2 separate regions of the Homo sapiens genome follow, and region 2 is linked to region 1. The links are contacts of gene promoters, found by promoter capture Hi-C in blood cells and fetal thymus (Javierre and others, 2016). All regions are on one chromosome and are shown on one strand. Each heading gives the region's core, a stretch centred on a gene start or on the middle of the fragment in contact. The rest is flanking DNA. Distances are from core to core; before and after follow the strand shown.

The links. Contacts are between HindIII fragments. The CHiCAGO score rates a contact against its expected background, and 5 or more counts as called.
Region 2: a contact is called between a fragment that was not itself captured here and the fragment with the promoter of TREML4 in region 1, in 6 of 17 cell types (activated CD4 T cells, M1 macrophages, non-activated CD4 T cells and 3 more). The highest score is 7.1, in activated CD4 T cells.

What each region holds. Positions count from the first base shown.
Region 1 is chr6:41,223,677-41,229,754 of GRCh38, forward strand. It overlaps TREML4 (triggering receptor expressed on myeloid cells like 4), which reads left to right and starts at 4,673. Exons shown (of 6, transcript NM_198153.3): 1 at 4,673-4,814; 2 at 5,038-5,368; 3 at 5,845-5,895. The coding sequence starts at 4,752. It overlaps LOC105375055 (a long non-coding RNA gene), which reads left to right. Exons shown (of 3, transcript XR_926794.3): 3 at 237-2,152. The HindIII fragment of the contact is 15,987 bases long and covers 143-6,078 here.
Region 2 is chr6:41,548,903-41,555,113 of GRCh38, forward strand. All of the region lies in intron 1 of FOXP4 (forkhead box P4), which reads left to right. Among named protein-coding and RNA genes, the nearest start is that of FOXP4-AS1, 3.4 kb to the left of the region's middle. The HindIII fragment of the contact is 5,218 bases long and covers 1,746-6,211 here.

The DNA.
Region 1 (6,078 bases), core at 3,423-5,922:
ATCACACAGTTGCCCCACTGCCCTCCAAATCCCCTGTGCTCCCTCGTTCATCCCCTCTGTTTATAAATAGGGAAAAGGTTATTCCAAAACTGGCTTCAGTTCAGTGATTAGTGTGGAGGAAAAAGGGCTCCATGTAAAATAAAGCTTCTTCCCCAAAGCCTCGGAATTTTAACCCTCAGAGGGCAGAGGGCCCACGTTGGCTTTCCTTTCTTTACTTGGTCTTCTCTGCCCTCCAGCTGCAGTTTGGGAAGCCTCCAGGCCTGGAGCATGGAGAGGAGAAGAGGAAGGGTCAGGAAAGTCTGGTGATGACCCAAAGAGTTCAAGCTGAGGTTTCTCAGAGGGCACCGTTGTGGGCTCTTCCGATGACACCCTGCCTGTCACCTGCAGCTTCCTCATGTAGCCTTGGATCTCCTTCCTGGTGGGTGCTCCTGACATCTCCTTCAGCCTCCAAGCCTTTCGCAGTCCACTTCCAGCTTCCTGCCATGCGTCCCTCCACCTCCAGCAGGCCTTTTGGGTGGGATCTACAACCACCCATGCTGGGTGCCTCACATCTGTGCAGCCCAACATCTGGCCCACGGAAGCCATCCACTTCCTTCACCCCAACAAAGTCATGGAGCCTGGGGGCCCCCACAAGGTCACCTCTCCTCCATTCCACCATCAGGACAGCTTGCCGCCTGCTGTCTCTACCCAATACAGCTCTCAGACTGAATCCAACTCAGCTGCTACATCTCCCAGACTGCAGGGGCCACAACCATCTTTCCAAGTTGTGACCCTATCTCAAGCCTCTCCCTAGGTTTGAGATAAGATGCAGGAATCTAACCCTCTCCTCCCCCAGGGTCACAGCACAACTACCAGCTGTCTCCAAAAGTCCTCTCCCAATCTTCACACTCCTCACAACTTTCTACCCTTGATGTGTGTGAGGGATTCATTCCTCAAAGAAGGTTTCAATACCTTTTGGCATGTGCTTCACACTGGCCTCCCACCTCACTCTGACAGATAGCATATATTTTCTTGGGACTTGCATTAGTCAAGATTTAGCTGCAAACTACAAAATCCAAGCTACGGATTTTAAGGAGAAAGAGATTTTTAAAATCAAACATTAAATGCTTTACAGAATCAGATCCTATGTAATTTCTGGGCATCACTCTTAAAGCCACAGGATGGGCTACTAAGGGACCACTGCCTTTGCCACAGTCAACACCCTTTCCAAATCAGGCAACTTTCCAAATCTGGAAGCTGCCATCACAGCCCTGGCTAAAGAACCCCTCCATCTCACCCATAGTCTACCGGCACAATGGATGCCTCTCTTCCCATTCTAGCTCACTTCCTCATTTAAGTCTCATACAAATACATTGAATGGGTGGGACCTAAAATATATCTGGAACCCTAGCTGCAAAGGAATCAGAAATGATCTTGTAGACCTTTTACTATAGAAAGACCCATGAAAAAGAGGTGGCAGCCACTCATAGTGGCTCACACCTGTAATTCTAGCACTCTGGGAGGCTAAGCTGGGTGGATCTCTTGAGTCCAGGAGTTCAAGACAAGCCTGGCCAACATGGTGAAACGTTGTCTCTATGAAAAGCAATAATAATAATAATAACAAGGTGCATTGGTGTGTGCCCACACTCCCAGCTACTCAGGAGGCTGAGGTGGGAGGATCACTTGAGCCCTGGGAGGTCAAGGCTGCAATGAGCCATGATCACACCACTGCACTGCAACCTGGGCGAAAGTGTAAAACTCCATCTCAAGAAAAGAAAAAGAGAGACAGAAGAAGAAAAAAGAAAGAAAGAAAGAAAGAAAAGAAAAGAAAAAAGAAGGAAGGAAGGAAGGAGAAAGAAAAAGAGAGAGAAGGAAAGAAGGAAGGAAGGAAGGAAGGAAGGGAAGAAAGAAAGAGGTGGCAATGAATATATAGTGAGTTCACAGTGTCTACCTGAATACTCTCAGCCAAAACTGAGATCACAATAGTTAAAATTTATAAGTTTTGTTGTTTCTTTTGCTGTCAATGAAAGTCAAATATGACTAAGTGAAAAATAAACATATAGTATTTGCTTTGTTATGTCAAATAAACGCTATTTGTAAAAATATAGTATTTGCCTTGTTACACCAAATAAACCCTATTCTGTAGTATAAACGTTATAGTAACAAATTTTCATTTACAGCAATCAGTACATCGGACACTATGTGTGACATATCACACTGAAGGCATCAAATGATACAGATGCAGAGAATAAATTCCTATTTTCCTCTTCCAGAATTTATCATACTTTTCTTAGAAACTTCAGTGTGTTTAAGAAAATGACTCTTATTACCATCAAGTGTTAGTAGGTGCTTTACACCTAGCCGTACTAAGATTTCTTAAAACTTTGCTGTTTGTTATGTACACGCTGTTTGTTATGTATCAAGTGATTATTCATATGCTTTGTGTAAATCGTTTCTATACATATTAAAACTAATCTTTTACACTTAGAATGCTTTCAGATTCACAGAAGAGTTGTGTAGGTATTGCATACTTCCCTGATGTGCTATGTTCAATGTCTTCTATTATTAATATAGTCCAATAGTATGCTACATTTCTCACAATTAATGAGTTGATATTGATACATTACTATAATTTTACAAAATTGATGAGTAGAACTCATATATTTATAATGCGTGGTAGGATAGTTTGATGTGTGTATTAACTGTGAAATTACTAAATCAAGCAATACCACATATACTTACTTGTTTTGTGGTGAGAACATTTAAAATCTATTTTCTGTCATTTTCAATTGTACAATTCATAGTTATGAACTGCACTCACCATACTGTGCAATAGATCTCTTGAACTTATTTTTTCTGTCTAACATATTGTGTTTCTTCAACAATACCTACCCAGTTTGTCCAATTCCCAGCCTCTGGTAATGCCATTCTACTCTGTTTCTGTGGTAGATTTTATTAATTGAAGTCCTTACTTCATTCAGATTACCCTGGCTTTTACCTCATGTACTTTCTGTGCTCCAGGATCCCACCTAGGAAGCCACATTGCTTTTAGTCTTCATGTCTGCTTAGGCTCCTCTTATTCATAGCAGTTTCTGAGAATTATTTCTTAGTTTTGATGGCCTTGACAGTTTTGAGGAACGCTGCTCAGGTATTTTGTAGAATGTCCCTCATGTGGAATTTGTTTGATGTTTTTCTCCTGGGGCCAGCGGCTTTGGGGAAGGAGACTGCACAGCTAATTGCCCTGTCATCACATCAAGTCAATGACACATTCTAACAACCTGAGTTATCCCTGTGGGTCTGCACTTTGGTTGCCTGGCTGCCACAGTAAGTGTCAGGTTTCTCCACTGTACAGTTACTCTTCTCTTCCTTCCCATGCTATCCTCTGGAGGAAAGTCACCTGCACAGCCCATGCTTAAGCCGTGGGAATTTATGCTTCTGCCTTGAGGGCAGAATACCTATAAGAATTGTTTGCAATCTCTCTCAGTCCCTTCAGGCTGCTATGAGAAGATGCCTTAGACTGGAGACTTTCTAAATAATAGAAATCTCTTTCTCAAAGTTCTGGAGTCTGGGAAGTCAAAGATCAAGGTGTCAGTGGATGTGGTATCTGCTGAGGGCTGCTCTCTGCTTCCAAGGTGGTGCTTTCTTGCAGTAACCTCAGTTGACTGAAGGCATGAACACTGTCCTCATATGGCAGACAGCGCAAATCTGCTTCCTGCAATCTCTGGTATAAGGGCATTAATTGCATTCTTGAGGATGACGCCCTCATGACTTAAGATTTTCCCACAAGATCCCACCTCTTAACGCTATCACATGGAAATTAAGTTTGAATATATGAGATGGGGGAACAACATTCTGAACACAGCAGAATCCTTATGCATGGGATATTTGTCTATTCCCCCCCCCAGTTCTTTATTCAGTCATTTACTTACATCAGCATGGACTCCTAGAGATTTAATATATACATTGGGTAGTAATCCAGTACCACTTGGTTTTGTTGCTAGATAGTTCTCACTTCGGCCATTTTCTTTTTCTGTACATTTTACACACGCGTTGTTCTTTCATCCACTGATGTATTCATCCAACAAGCACTGATTGAGATGATCCCAAGCTACCATAACTGATCCACTCCTACCTGCCTTCCCCTCCAACTTTCCCTGACCAGCACTCTCTTTCCTCCCTGCTTTCCTGGCCCCACCATTTCCAGGGAACATCTTGTAATTCCTGGGATTAAAATCTGCCCTCTACAAAATGTCTCAGGGTCAAAACTCATCATCAACCCACCATGGCTAGACCAGAAGGATTCAGGGGTCTGGTCGTGCCTCCAAGGGCCCTGACCACCTATAGGAAGTGCACAGAGAGAAGGAAAGAGGGATGACCCCAGCTTTATTCACCAGCTTTATTCTTGGCCATGCTGAGAGCTGCCCCTAGCAATAGAGGAGCAGTATGACTGGCTGGAAGGCATAAAGCAGCAGACATGGGGAGAAGTTCAGTGAAAGGCGGCAGAGCAACACAGCAGGGCTGAGGTGCCCAGGCCCAGAGACAGACCCTGTAGCTGGTGGCCCCTTTCAAGGCCTGGCTGCCCCTCCTCCCCTGGTCTGCAGAGCCCGCCCTCCCAGGCCGACCATTTCCCCAGCAAGACATTGACTTCCTCAATTTTACCAGCTGAGAGACACTGGGAACCTGGGGCAGAATCAGACCCAGCGTCTGACTCCTCCTGAGAGGGCTCCCTTTTTTCTCCTCTCCTCCGCTGTCAGAAACAGATCTGGGCTGGAATGGCCTGGGGTGGGGTCCACACCTGCTGCTTCCACCTGTGCTGCTGCTGCTCCTGGCCTCAGGTGACATGGAGGGAAAGAGTGCAGGGGGTGTAAGGAGTGGGATGAAGAATGAGTGGGGCAGGGAGCAGCATGGCTGTGTGACCATAGGACAGAATTTAGGGGCCCTCTTCCATGTGTGGGCATCAGAACTAGTTCCCCCTCCCCTTCCCCAGCCTGTGATGGGGGAGGTTGGGTCCCTTCAGAGCTCTGACCTGGGTTTCTTTCTGCCGGTTCCTGGGTAAAGGGTGCTGTGCCTGAAGAACTTCACAAACACCCAGGACAGACCCTCCTCCTGCAATGCCAGTACTCACCCAAGAGAGGGCCCTATCAGCCCAAATCCTGGTGTCAGCAGACATCTCCAAGTCGGTGTACCTTACTTGTCACCAGCTCCAAGCCCTGGACAGCAGTTCAGAAGTCTCATTACACAATCTGGGACAAGCCCAATGCTGGCTTCTTCAACATCACCATGATTCAGCTGACACAGAATGACTCGGGATTCTACTGGTGTGGAATCTACAACGCTTCCGAAAACATCATCACTGTTCTTAGAAATATCAGCCTGGTGGTGTCTCCAGGTGAGCTCTTTTCTTGAGGAAATACCTCTGTGCCACCCCCCAGGGACCTGAAGGAAATGTCATGCACCCCCTCCCATGCCTCTATCATCCCCCATCCTGCCAGGTATTCTGCTGTGGTCCAAGGGGAGCAAAGATCCTGTCCCCAAACATGGACTCTCACCTCTCCTCCACCCGGTACATCCTGGCCTCAATTGTTGGGAAGGTACCCTCAGAGGTCCCTGGACAGAGACACAGTCTGTCTGTCACTCTGCGTCTCTCTTTGTCTTACACAGGCACACCCACAACTCTTCTTTTCACACACACACTAACACACACACACCAACAACTCTGTCATGCAGATCTTAGGCACAGACCACTCCTGGCTTAAGACATCCTGAGGGTCTGGCTCTGGGCCCCTACCTCCTCTTATGTATGGGGTAGACCCTACTCTCTTCTGGGCCCCTGGAGAGTCATTGTCTGCTGTCTTTTCTCTTTAGCCCCAACCACGTCTCCTATGTGGACTCTTCCCTGGCTCCCAACAAGCACAGGTAGGTTGGAGGCCTCGGTGGGGGAAGATTAGAAGGGTCACCAGGCAGCTTGGGAGCCTCAGATTCAGGGAAGGGGAAACCAGGGAGGCCTGCCTCTGAGGACTGATCTCTTGGGGCCTGGGCTTGTGGGAAGCTACCTTCAGGGCCCACTGTCTCTTAGGGAGAGAAACATGCACTATCTGA
Region 2 (6,211 bases), core at 3,105-5,604, 320 kb after region 1:
GAGGATACTGGGGCTCTGCTCTTGGTACCTGGACAGCTTGTTGGCTCCCATGGTGCCCTTTCGATCTGAAACTCAAAAAACTGTGAGTTGGGGGAGTCACTCACACTCTAGTCAGTGGGGCAAGGTGGCAAGGGGAAGAGGTGGTTTTGTGGTTGCCCCCTCTCAGCCTCCACACCCAGGGCCAGGGTGAGCGCTGAATCTCTCCTGCGGGACGGGACCCTCAGGACCCACTTTATCCTGGCTCCAGCCTTGCTACTAAGTTTGGGAGACCATGGGAGCCTTCTCTCCTGGCACCAAGGGCTGGGCGCCTGGGTGGAGTTTTCTGTCCTTCTCCCTGTCCTGGACAGGTTTCCCAGGAGTTACGGAGTTGGGGAACCCCTGAGCCCTGGAGAGAGAAAGACCTGACCCCAGTGCTGGAGAACGCCAGGGCCAGAGCATTTGCAAAGGGTCCCACTTGCAAAGGGACCTGCTCCTGTCCCTTTCTGTGTAGGGATCTTCCTCACACCTAGACGCCCCCAGCCCCCTTCCTCTGCCTTTAGAGCCGAAAACTTCCGTTCTGGCTGTAGGCAGGTAGGTCCCTTCTTGCCAGGAATGTGCATATCCTGCTGGGCCCCTACCCCAAACATACCTCTTCCTTGGTGGGAGGGAAGCAGAGGGACTGGGAGAGGAAGGCTTGCTTTTGATCCAGTAATTCCCCCAAATGTTTGCTGAGCCCCTACTCTGCCTGGGCAGGTCCCAGGCTGAGTACTGGGGTACCCAAGCAGTGAAGGCTGGGGTCTGCTGTCTGGACCTCAGATTGTTGGGGTAGGAGAGACAGATATCACATGGTGGGGGGGAGGGTGGAGGGGAGAAGAATGGGAACAGGGTGTCTGTTTCAGAGGAGAGTTGTGAGGTGCAAGGGGAGGGAAGGGTTGTCTCCCCAGGAAGCCTTCCCTGCATCTTAACCCTTCCTACCCCACTGCCTTGGCGGTTTCCTGTCTCTCCAGCCACAGTGCAAGCCCCCCAGTCCCATCCTAAGCAGGCACAATGTCTTTATTTTTTGAATAGCCTAAACTGTGTGAAATAATAATTTCTTCCATCCAAGAAACTCCTCACAGTTTCCCTTCTCACAGATCTTACCACGCTCCAGCTTCCCTAGACCAAGGCAGGGCAGGTACTATTTTTGACAGGACTCTCAGGCTCCGTTGGCTGGAATGACCTCCTCAGATTTGGTTCCAGAACTCTGGAACCCAGAGCAAGGAACTGAGGCCTCCCCAGGGCAGAACATGTGTCAGAGTGGAAAAGGCTTTGGAACTTGGCATTAGAGATGGGACTCTGGAGAACTTAATTAAGCTCTTCGAACCTCAATTTTCTTACATTGTAAAGTAGGTCATAATACCCACCTTAGAGATTCTGTTTGGGAGTTAGATGAGAGAGCAGATGTCAAGTACCTTGCACGGTGCCGGGTGCATGGTAGTACTGATCAAGGGATGGCGTTTATTATTAATTTGCTAGCACTGCCAGGCCACATGTTGGTTGAATATGGAAATACTGAAGTATTAATCTTCATTTTATGGGTTGGGAAAACGAAGTCCAGAGAGAAGAGGCAACTTGTCCAAGGTTACACAGCTACATGGTAGCACAGCTGGAACTAAAATATGGGGCCCTCGACTCCCAGTATAACCAGTAGGGCTTGAGCGTGTGCTGTGGTGAAGGGAGAAAGGAAGGGATGGGAGGAGCTGCCATTCCTCCCTCCTTCCTCCATAAGCTTGGCCTAGGCCGCCTGCCTTCTAGTGTGAATACTTTCTCTTTTCCCTTTAAGTGGAGAGGGGGACTGTAGGTGCAGAATCTGGTGTTTCCACCTGCACACAACCCTGGAGCATTCCCCAGGCACTCCTAAGGTTCTTGTGAGACACACATAAATGGGAGAGAGAATTCCCCAGAATGCAGAGGAGGAAAAATGACTGATAACCCCTCTCTCCAGAAAGGGAGATTTCTAGGGTTTGGAAACCCTAGCCTACACGTCCTTATGGAAGATTTTGGCAGCAAGTCTCAGACCAGTTTGGGACCTATCACTGAATGGATCATCTCAAAGAAGCAAAAGGAAACTCCCCTTGAGCCTGAAGTTATTGGCTCCCTTCAGCGTTGCCTCCCAGGATTCTCTGTGGAAATACACACCTTCAGTCCACTGCCAGTTCCACCAAGCCGGGATCACAGCGGGAACCCTCTTTCCTCTGAATTCTGCCACTTTGGATGCTGTGGTCTTGTGAGATGTTGCTCCTGGGCCCTTGCAGAGCCTGGACGCAGGGCACACCTGCCTGATCTAGAAAACAAGAGCTCCTGGCACAAAAGGTACACATCTGGACAGGGCCGCAGGTGTTGGACCGTGGAGTCACTGTTGCTGTGGTGTGTCGCCCGGGCTGGACATGCCTGGGCCTGGCGAATGCCCTCCTTGCCTTGATCCTGGTCCCAGGATCCCTCTTGAGATCAGGGTCTTTTCCCGGCTGTCCCTCTGGCACAGCCCTGCACCTTCCTTCTCTCCTGTCTGGATGGTAGCCATACAGCCGCCTGTTCCCTGAATCCCAGCTGCTCTGCCCACCTCCCTGGGCCCCATGCTCTGGCCAACTGGAGCCTCCACAGCCAGGCCTGATGGTGGGTGGAGCCAGTTGATAGTGCAAGATAGAGGTAAATGGTGTTTCCTTTCCTGCTGCAGTTCTGATGGTCTGTGACCCAGGCTACCATGTAAATGGAAAATGGGGCGACATAGTGGGTTTTCCTCAGACTAACAGTATGTAGAATAGAGACCATCCGGCATTTGTTCAAGGTAGGCAGGACTGGTGGGAGCAGAAGTTACTCAAGTAGCAGCAAAGGGGTGGCAAAATGATGGCGACTTGAAGGTAGGGTGGCTTAGGGAATGGAGCCAGGGACTCAGTAGTTGTATCCATCCTACGAACACACTGTGGAGCGCCTACTGTGTGCTGGAGGCCAGGCTGGTGAAGGGCAGCAGGAGGGACCCGGAGAAGGGGTGGCTCACATGCAACTTGGAAAATCAGAAATAGAACAAGGGCCGGAGCACAGATCTGTGGGCACTGGCCACCTGAGCCAGCGTGGGTCCTGAAACCCCCAGCTGAGACAGGACATGTGTGCCACCCAGAGAGCCCTTAGGAGGGCCTCCCCGTGTGAAATGAAACCAGGGGGTGGGAGGTTGGGGTAGCTTCCGTTCTCATCTCCTCAGCGGGGCTTCCTTGGATTCCATTCCCGGCTGGCTTTACGTTTCTAGGAGAACATTTCTATGGAGACCCAGGCCTAAAGAAGTTGCTTCAAAAGAGGGTGGCGGTGTACTTCCTCCTTTCCTTTGGGGTTCCCCTGCAGATGCACATCCGCATCCTGGAAGGAAGGGGTACACTAGGGAGAGTTTTGGGGAGATATGAAACATCAGGATTTGTGGGAGACCCAGCGAGAGGCTGCGGCTGTAAGCACTCAGGGAGCAAAGCGCCAGGCTTTTTGAGGCTGCGTCTCTGGATGGGAGCTGGAGAAGCTGGATGGTCAGGCCATGCTGAGGGTGTAGAGTTGGTCCACTGAGAGAATCCCTCCTTCAGGAAGCCTCTGAGCTTTCTTTCCCAGAGAGCCAGAGCTACCTGTTTCCCCTCCCCAGCTGAGCGCTCGCTTTGGATTGTTCCCTCAGTGAGTTTTTACCTTTTTAACTGAGCGCATCAGTTCCAGTTGCTGGAAGCTCCTGCATGTCTGAGACCTGAGCACAGGGATATAACACAAGGGGTTTTCGGCACTCACCAGACGCAGAGAAAAGAACTGCAGCTGGGCTAGCTCGGGCCGGCAGCTGGGGATCCGGAAACACTGGAAGAGGGGACGGCTCAGGCAGCATGGCAGTGTTTAGCCACAGAGAAAGCTGCCCACCGATTGTGCTCAGAGATGATTTTGTGGGTCTAGGCCTAAACAGTCTGTACCCACACGGGTACATGATGAGGGTCCCCGGTAAGCCCACTGCTGCCAACTTCCTAACTCACTCTTCGGCCTTAGGCATGACCCGTCTTCTCTCTGGGCCTCAGTTTTCCTAACTGTACAGTGGGTGAAGAGGACACCTGCAGCCCCACATCCTCGGGCTCACCATCCTGAAGCTGTGGGTTGGGAGCCAGGCAAGAAGAGACCTGAAGGTCTCAACGTACACCCTCTTTGTTCCAAGGGCATCGGGAGCCTACTTCCATGGGTCCTTCTTGAAAGGGGTGCTGTGGAGCTCGGGGCAGAGGACACTATGACCCATGCAAGTCTCCTCCTTCCCAATTAGGCAGTGGAGCCTGATTAAAAGGGGTGCTGCCTGCCCCCTCCCACCCGATCCCCATCGACGAGATTTCCCTTCATCAGAATCTCACATTCTCCAGAAATTAATTTGATGCCTCATGTTATCAATTAATTGAATCTCGTTGGGAGAGAGAGCTCCGCGAGGTGAGGCGAGCTTCAGCTTGGCCCTTGTGTGCCGCCATCCCCCCTCCCCCTCACACCAGGGCAGCCTTCTCCTCCCCCATTCCTTTTTTTCTGCCTTTCTTTTAATTGCACTTATTTTCTAAAATAAAACCACTGCTCTGTGCCCCTTTGCCCAGTTTGGCTTGGATGGATACCCATGGACTGGGTACTGGCTGGGATTTGCCCTTTCAGAGGTGGGGGCAGGAGGACTTCCCCTCCCCTGGACCCTGTCTGATCTCTCCTTAAGTAAACAGAATCTCACCCTTTGGGAATTTGGCCGTGATCCTGTGTGCTCCAGGGGCTTCTGGTGAGAAACTTAGGAGGACTAGGGGAGGGAGGAAGAGCTGGGAACAGACTGCACCCTAGTTGGGGACAGAGGAGGTAGAGAAGGACCAAGCTAGGGACCTTTTAACCCTCAGGATTTTGTCATTCAGAAGCTGCTGCCCCTGCCAGAACTGATCCATTAAAACACAGGGCAGAGGGCATAGGTGTGTGGTACCTCCAAGCCTCCCAACAGTCAGGTCAGATATCTGCAGGAACAAGCCCTCAGCATTTTCAAGGACACTTGGAAGCCCTTGCTCTGCCCCCTGCATGGAAGATGGGGGAAGGAAGTTCTAATAGGACATCCCTATTAGGAAACCTGGGAGGTTGTTGTGGCAGGTAGAGCTAGGTAGTCACCAGGCCCTGACTGAGGAACTGTGCTTTGCCGTTTCACATACCTCCTTGTTCTTATCCCCACAACAACCCTGAAAGATTCTCCAGGCAGTGGTAATTATCACTCTCATTTGATAGGTGAAGTACCCAGGCCCAGAGAGGTTACCTGACTTGCCCCGAGTCACAGTTAACTGGAACTTGCCTTTCTGAAATGCTGGCCATAAGGGCTGAGGTCACAAGTGGACTAACTTCATCCCTGCTGAGTTTTGTTGACCCACACACAGTTCATTACAATGGTAAATTTCACATAAATATCCCCACTTCTGCTCCTTTTGAAAAACCCAAGCCCTGTCAACACTGAGCCTGCATTTCTGTGTGGAAAGGATGGACTGGGATTGAGTGGCAGCTGCCTCCTCGTGCCCTCCTCACCTGGCCTCCTAAGTGACCAGCCTAGCCCCTGAAGGCATTTTGGTTAGCAGCTTTGACATGGAGATTCACCTGTCCCCAGTATTCCTCAAGGAGAATCTAGTGTGGGACAGTGTCTGAAGGACTCTGCAGGGTCTAGCCAGGCACAGTGGCTCATGCCTGTAGTCCCAGCACTTTGGGAGGCCAAGGCAGGTGAATCACCTGAGGTCAGTGGTTCAAGACCATCCTGGCCAACATGGCGAAACCCCATCTCTACTAAAAATACAAAAGTTAGCCGGGCGTGGTGGCAGGCACCTGTAGTCCCAGCTACTCAGGAGGCTGAGGCAGGAGAATTGCTTGAACCCGGGAGGCGGAGGTTGCAGTGAGCCGAGATTGTGCCACTGCACTCTAGCCTGGGCGACAGAATGAGACTCTGCCTCCAAAAAAAAAAAAGACTGCAGGGTCTGTACAAGAAGATCTCAGAGAGAGGACCTATAAGGACACCCTGACCCAAATCTAATTCCCACACAGCTACTTAATAACTGATGGTGGGATGGGCGCAGTGGCTCATGCCTGTAATCCCAGCACTTGGGAGGCCAAAGTGGGAGGATCAGTTGAGCTCAGTTTGAGACCAGCCTGGGCAATATGGTGAAACCCCCTCTCTACAAAAAATACAAAAATTAGGGTGTGGTGG